2 separate regions of the Homo sapiens genome follow, and region 1 is linked to region 2. The links are contacts of gene promoters, found by promoter capture Hi-C in blood cells and fetal thymus (Javierre and others, 2016). All regions are on one chromosome and are shown on one strand. The core of a region is centred on a gene start or on the middle of the fragment in contact, and the rest is flanking DNA. Distances in the headings are between cores, read along the strand shown.

What was found. Contacts are between HindIII fragments. The CHiCAGO score rates a contact against its expected background, and 5 or more counts as called.
Region 1: a fragment that was not itself captured here is called in contact with the fragment with the promoter of IRS1 in region 2 in 2 of 17 cell types (total B cells and M0 macrophages); the score reaches 6.1 in total B cells.

What each region holds. Positions count from the first base shown.
Region 1 is chr2:226,305,068-226,308,837 of GRCh38, forward strand. No RefSeq gene overlaps it. Among named protein-coding and RNA genes, the nearest start is that of MIR5702, 350 kb to the right of the region's middle. The HindIII fragment of the contact is 1,066 bases long and covers 1,834-2,899 here.
Region 2 is chr2:226,798,169-226,801,637 of GRCh38, forward strand. It overlaps IRS1 (insulin receptor substrate 1), which reads right to left and starts at 1,652. Exons shown (of 2, transcript NM_005544.3): 1 at 1-1,652. The coding sequence starts at 570. It also overlaps a transcript of RHBDD1 not described here. RefSeq lists silencers at 471-520, 1,511-1,930, 1,951-2,020, 2,981-3,190. The HindIII fragment of the contact is 8,747 bases long and covers 1-3,469 here.

The DNA.
Region 1 (3,770 bases), core at 1,117-3,616, 490 kb before region 2:
CTTGTCCCCTTCCACATATGGCTGATAGGCAGCATTTAACACAGATAATCAGACCCTCAAAAGAAAACCATCTTACACTTCCTTTTATAGATGGAAAAGTTGAGGCCCAAAGAAGTAACTAGAACTAGCTTACGGTCAAGTTGTTATTGTTGACAGAGACGTGAACAGAAATTTCACGTTCTATTCTCAACACACAGAGAGGTTGTGTACAAATGAGGGGAAAAGCTGAACCTGGTGCAATGTGGAACCCTGCTTCCTAGTAACAAATCACTTGGGAACATTCTGAAAACTCAGTGCTGCCCTCATGAAGACTCACAGAACTCACTGGTAAATTAAATTAAGGTCCTGAGAAATCCTGCAGCAAATGAACTTATTATGCTTTGTATAACCCAGAATTTTCCAAATGCACGTGACCAGGAAACCCTTTGTCTCATAAAAACTGTGATCATCCGGCACAAATAGTGTTTCACTGGATATTTTGTGATATTTTTTGGTTGAGAGCAAAGAAACCTGAGCTTTAATTTCACATCTGCTAGTCCCTGTCCAGGTGCCCAGGGGTAAGTCTCTTAATTCACTTAACTTTGTTTATGTGTAACAAGAAAGAAGAGGGGAAAAACAAGTTCCAAAGTCTCTCTCATCTTTATAAGTGCTTTGTAGCTTCATCTGTTGTACATATTCTAAGGAAGGATACACACACACATACACTCCACACACAAATACACACATATGTACATAAATAAGATTACTAGTCAACATCCATAAGAATGTGTGTTTATGTACATATATGAAATATTTCTAGTTTCAACATGTTCCCTTTTCTCTTCTCCGAGTTAGTGGAGGAGTAGAAAGAATTGTACGTGGCACAAGACAATTCTGCTCACATCCCATTGGCTAGAACTCATGCCCATGACCACACCTAACTTGGGAAAAGTGGTCTAATTGTGCATTCAGGAGGGGAATGTGGATCTTGGGAGCAGAGAGGAGCAGTCTCTGAAGTTGTTTCACTGGATTTGATGTCCCATCCAATTGTAAATCTCAATGATCATAAGATATCCTAGAGTACCCTAAATGTGCTCATTATACGGCTTGGGGAAGGATATATACTTAAAAATAATGCACAATAAACTAGTTATTGAATGAGTGGTGTGAGGTGCTATATGATGTAGACTCATACAAGACTTAAAACATTAAATGAGAATTCAGAGACCTGGCTCTTCAGGTTTGGTATGTACCAGTGTAGGTTGCTTAATATTTCTCTGTTTCAGTTGCTTTAAATATAAAGAAAAGCCGGGTACAGTGGCTCACGCCTGTAATCTCAACACTTTGGGAGGCCAAGGCAGGCAGATCACCTGAGGTCAGGAGTTCGAGACCAGCCTAGCGAACATGGTGAAACCCTGTCTTTGCTAGAAATACAAAAATTAGTCGGGTGTGGTGGCGGGTGCCTGTAATCCCAGCTACTCTTGAGGCTGAGGCAGGAGAAGTGCTTGAACCTGGGAGGTGGAGGTTGTAGTGAGCAGAGATTGCACCATTAAACTCCAGCCTGGGTGACAGAGTCTGTCTCAAAAAAAAAAAAAAAAAAAAAAAAAGAAAGGAAGATAATAACTACTTTATCTATTTAGTAGGACTATTCTAAAGATCAAATAAGACACATATGTAAGAGATTTTAGCACTGTAAAGCAATTGTGAAGAAATCATTATGCTATCATATTTCTAATAGTGGATATAATATATACTAACTACATTAGTAGAATTTTTGACCCTATGAACTAATCTCTGAATACTAAATGCTAAAACGATGGCTTTATATATACTATATTAGTAATCATCTGGTAAAGCTTTAACTAAACTTTTTGTGTTATATTTAACATTTGGAGGGCCTGATAGAGTTTATTAAGAGGACAAAATGAGCTAATCCATATGAATTCCTTAAAATCGCAACTGCACTAATAAGTTCTGAATAAATATTACTATTGTTATTAGGAGAACTGACATGGCTGAGAATTCATGATACCCAAAGTGCCATGCCAAGCATTTCATATATTATCTTATTTAATTATCATAATAACTCTATAGTGTAGTTATTATTATCCCATTTTCTAGATTAGGATAACTGAGACTCAAGTAGGATAAATAATTGAAATGTGGATTTTAAACTTCAAATAAATATTTATACCTCTTTATTCTGACATTGCTGATAAGCAAATATTTTTTCACAAACTAACATCTAACACACCTGAGCCCACTTGGATTCCACAATGGCGTGTCACTGTCCTGTACTCTGATCTCTTTGCAGTTCAGATTGTGATGAAAACAATTCACTAGATGCTCATTGTGGATGATTTCTCCATTACTTTTCCTAATTAATGACTTTTATCTACCTTGCCCTGGGTCTCCTGGAGCAACTGACAGAGGCACAGAGGACTCAGGAAGTTACCAAGTAGCTGGGGGAGACAAACTTTTGCTGATGAAAGTGCTTTCCTAGGTTTCTTAGCGCCTGTGGTTGTGTGTTTAGCAGGTGAAAGTCAGGAGGCTGACAGTGATTTTCTTTTTGCCCAACACGTCAGCACAAAAATTACACCATCATAGATGGAGTCTTCCTGATCTCTTTTTGGGGTGTGTGTGTGTGTGTGTGTGTGTGTGTGTGTGTTTCCTTTTTTTTGTTATTAAAGAGGAAGGACATAGTTCTTGGTGACATAAAAACATTTTTGTTTCTGTTCAGGGATTCACTTGTCCTCTTTTTCATATTATGGTGCTATGTGACACAAGCATTGAAAGTACAAAATGAAAGGGTACTTTATATATTTGTACAACATACTATGCAAATATTTGGTCAAATTGGGACAGTACATTTGGAAGTGAAGGAGAAAACTTCCCCTGAACACTCATAAATTCACCTTGAAGCTTTATCGCCGAGAGCCTGTGCTATTTTCCTTTTACTTGTGTACTATGTAGGTCCAGATTGGACACTCTTGTTAAAAATGTGTTTAGGCAATTCAGAATGAATCTAAACTTCTAGAAGACATAGGTTACTTTCATCAGAATCATGGTCAACAGCAGTTAGTTGTTCAAAATAGTTACCTCTGTTCATTTTAAAGTTAATCATTAAAAGAATAAAATCAAATTGGTTTACAAGAAAATCATGTGTTCAGTTACTCACACAAAATATCCATTGGTTTAGTAGTTATTGAGAATCTCCTATTTTTAACACCCTGTGTGAATCTGTGATAATATTACATAAATACATAATACAAATATATAATATCGAACATACATACACATATATATTATAAATATTCGTATACACCCAACAGAAATAGCAGTAAATGATGGGACCAATGACCTCTCAGCAATGTCAGCAATGTGCACTGGGAGTACAAAGAAGGAAGTAATGACTTCTGATTGAGACATGGGGAGTGCTTTCTCATATCTCCTGAAGACACTAATAAGTGAAAAACCCAGGACAGGAATCCCAGGGTGGGAGCAGCATGAGTAAAGGCAAAAAAAAAAAAAAAAAAAAAAAGTGCCTACTACAATTGAATATAGGGAGTAATAAAGTATAGATAGTAAGGGAACAAAACTGTAGGATGTTAGACTGTAGAAACAGTCTAGAAAGAGATTGTCAAAGACAATATGAGTAAGTCCCCCAGATAGCAACTTCAAATCTCTTGATAAACCTAAAGATGGGGAATCTACTGAATGGTTACTGTCCTTATGTTGGCCTACAGAGCCCTCCCATACAATCATATGTGTATATCTAATTTAAGTATGTG
Region 2 (3,469 bases), core at 402-2,901:
CTTGCTGGTCAGGCAAAGGCGGTAGATACCAATCAGGTTCTTTGTCTGACCCAGGCCCTTGGGCTTCAGGATCACTTGCCAGACCTCTTTGAATGCGGGTCCTGGGGGCACGTCACCGTAGCTCAAGTCCTCCCCAGCCTCACCAAGGCCGGAGCTGCCGCTGCAGCTGCCCCCACCACCTCCCGCCCCGAGGGCCGCAGCTCCGTCGTGGTGGCCCTTAGCACGGTTGTGCAGCTGTAGGAGAGCCTGGTACCAGCTGTCTTGCTCGGCCTCGCTGTCCGCCGCGATGGCAAAGTGCTCGTCCCGGGTGTAGAGAGCCACCAGGTGCTTGTTCTTGGAGTCAGCCCGCTTGTTGATGTTGAAGCAGCTCTCAAGGGGGATCGAGCGTTTGGGGGCGCTCGACTTGTGCCGCCACTTCTTCTCGTTCTCGTAGTACTCGAGGCGCGCCGGGCCCCCAGCCTCGCTGGCCGCGCGCAGTACGAAGAAGCGTTTGTGCATGCTCTTGGGTTTGCGCAGGTAGCCCACCTTGCGCACGTCCGAGAAGCCATCGCTCTCCGGAGGGCTCGCCATGCTGCCACCGCCACCACCAACGCTGAGCAGAGGGAGGCTCCGAAAAACAACCGGGTGGGGGGCGGAGGCTCCTCGCCGCGGCCCGGCACATGCAAACAGGGCTGGAGGCAGCAGAAACCCCGACTCTGAAATCCACGCCGCCCCCCGCGCCGGGGAGGGGCAGCTGAAGGAGGACGCAGCTGCTGAGCCCAGGAGAGAGCCCGACCGGAGTTTTCGGGCGCTTCACGCCCGGCGGGGAGGCAGTGCGTCCGGGGTGAGGGCAGCCCCGATCCTCCGAGAGCCAAGTCTCCTCTCAGCCGCCGCCGCCACCAGGAAGGAGCGAAGATGCATCTCTCGTCGCCCCGGCTGGAGTCCGGCACAGGGAGGCGACAGTCGGGGGTCCCTGCGGTGCCCCTCCAGGAGCGCGCGCGCGCGCGCGCCTTCCCTCCTGAGTTCCCCTCTGGAAGCAGCGATTCCCGAGGCAAATTAAATATCCTTGGGCAGGGGGAGGCGGGTTGCCAAGTCCCAACGTTGCACGGGGTTCTCCCTCCTCCTTCGCCTCCTCCCACCCCCCAACCGTCCCAGCCGCCACCAGCCGCCCAAATACCAGCTCAGTCGCAGAGACCGCGGCGCTGCGGCTGTTGCTGTTGCTGCTGCTGCTGCTGCTGCTGCTGCCGCCGCCCGCGGGCGCGTCCTCTGCAGCCCCCATCCGGGCCCATCTCGGCGGGTGGAGAAAGTGGCTTTTCCATGCGAAACGATACCGGGCAGCCACTGCAGCTGGGGACCGGCCGGAGGGACAGACTCATCCCTGCCCCTCGCTCCAGGCGGCTGGGGAGGAGGGGAGGGGACAAGGGCGAGAGGGGATGGGGGAGGTTTGGGAAGGGTTCGGGGAAGACGCCTGTTCCTCGGGAGGCGCTGCCGCTGCAGTTACTTCTCCCCTCCTCCCTCCTCCTCCTCCTCCTCGGAGAGTTGCCGAGAGCCCCAACCAAAACAAGCGGCGGCGTCTGGCTCTGCGCGCCGGCCCCCTCCGACCGCGCCGCCGTCTCACTCGGAGGAGAAAAACACGTGACGGAGCCTCCGCGCTCGGCAGCCGGGCAGCCGCCGCCGGGAGGCTCCCGCCCGGGTCTCTACATTCCGGGCCGAGCCCGCCCCGCGCCCGCCCCTCTCCGCCCCCCAGCCGTGCTGCAGCGGCGCCCGCGCCGACCCCGGCGCAGCGCTAGGACAGCGCCCCTGCGCGGCCGCCAGCTCCGGCGCAGCGCCTCCCTACACGCGCGCCAACCGGGGCGCCCCCGGCCCGCAGGAATCCCCGCGGCGGGCGCAGGCGGGGGTGTTTGGGTGGCTACCCGAAAGCACGAGGGGAGTCTGGGAAAACGGGAGGGGGCGAGCTCGGGAAGACGCAGGAGTGAGGGTGGGGGGCCACGGGGGGGCACTGCGGCTACAGAGCCCCGAGTGGGAGGCCGGGGGGAGGCGGGGGCGCCGGAGCTGGGCTGCCTCTTACCTATCAGGTAAGACTGACCCACGGGAGGGAGGTTTCTAGTCAAGGCTGTTTCCCCCAGGAAATTTAAAAGCTAGATTTCGGCTTCAGGGCGATAGGCCATGGTGAGGGGATCTGTATTTTTTAAGGTTTTTCTAAAGGACTTCTGGGCCAGCCTTCCACCTTGGGATCCCCAGATTTGCTGCCGTGAGGTACCTGGAAGGAACAGAGGGACGCCCAAGGGCAGTGACTGGGGGCAGTTATGGTCACTACAAAAGGAGAACAGGGATCCCCAGGAAGTGTCTCACGTCCGGCGCTGTGGAATTAGTTGCTGATCAAGTAGGGAGAAAATGTAAATATCACCTTTTCTCCTGCTCCCCTTGCCCATCCGTGTGACGGGGGGACTCACACCTAAGGCTGAGGGCATGGGGGAGGGGAAATGAGAGGTCCCTTATCATATTCCGAAGTCTATCCGTGACTTTAAAAAGCTGTTAGGGACCTTCAGAGGGTTCATAAGGCCAAAACCCTACTGTGCAAATATTGGCTGAAATGTTTGTTTCACACACAGCTCCCACACCCATTGAACCACCCTATAAGTTTTTAACCTTGACCACAAGGATAACAGGGAGAAAACAAGGATGGTGCCAGCTCAACTGTACAGGAAAATGGTTACTTCATGAGTGGACCAGATCAGCAGCCTGGGTCTACTTGAAGCGCCCCTTTCAGGGTCACCTTGCGGTATCAGTCTCCCCACAAACAAACGCTCCCCAGAGTTTTTTTATTTTTTAAGCCGACCTATAAACAAGCAGTTTGTCCCTGCTTGCTCGCCTGGCACTAAGGACCCACAGAGATGTCACTCGGTTTAATGCTGTCTCATTTTGATGCCTGGCCCGTTTGGGGTTGCCGCCCCTTTACTACGCCGGGACCCTCCTCGGCCTCAGGCTCCCAGGCACTGCAGGATGCTGGCTGGGCACTCAGCAGTCGAGGCGCTGGGCATGCTCAGTGGCTGGGACCCGGCGGGCCGCGGGGGAGCGCGCCTCGGCCCAATGCGGCTGAGGGGCGGAGCGAGTTTCCCGGGGAGGCCTGCTGATTGGTGGGATGGCCTGTTTTTCAAGCCTTGCACTGCAGAGGGAAGGTGGGGGTAGAAGGGTTGAGGGTACCAAGGTAGGTTGCAAAGCGTAGTAAAAAAAGAAAAAGAAGATGATGATGATGAAGGAGAAAAAGAACCATAGGCGCCATTCAGGGGTGTGCGATACGTAAATTAGGGGGATTGGGCATCTGCAGAGGGGCTCCTCCCCACCCAAGCCTGGGAGCCTCTCGTTTCTCCTCTCCCCTTCCTGTTCCCGGTCGTCATGCAGCCTCATCTAAACCTGGTTAATCTATAATTTGAGTACACATGTTGAATTGAAAGCCCTCCCTTCTTTTCCTCTGACAGCTTGGTGATGT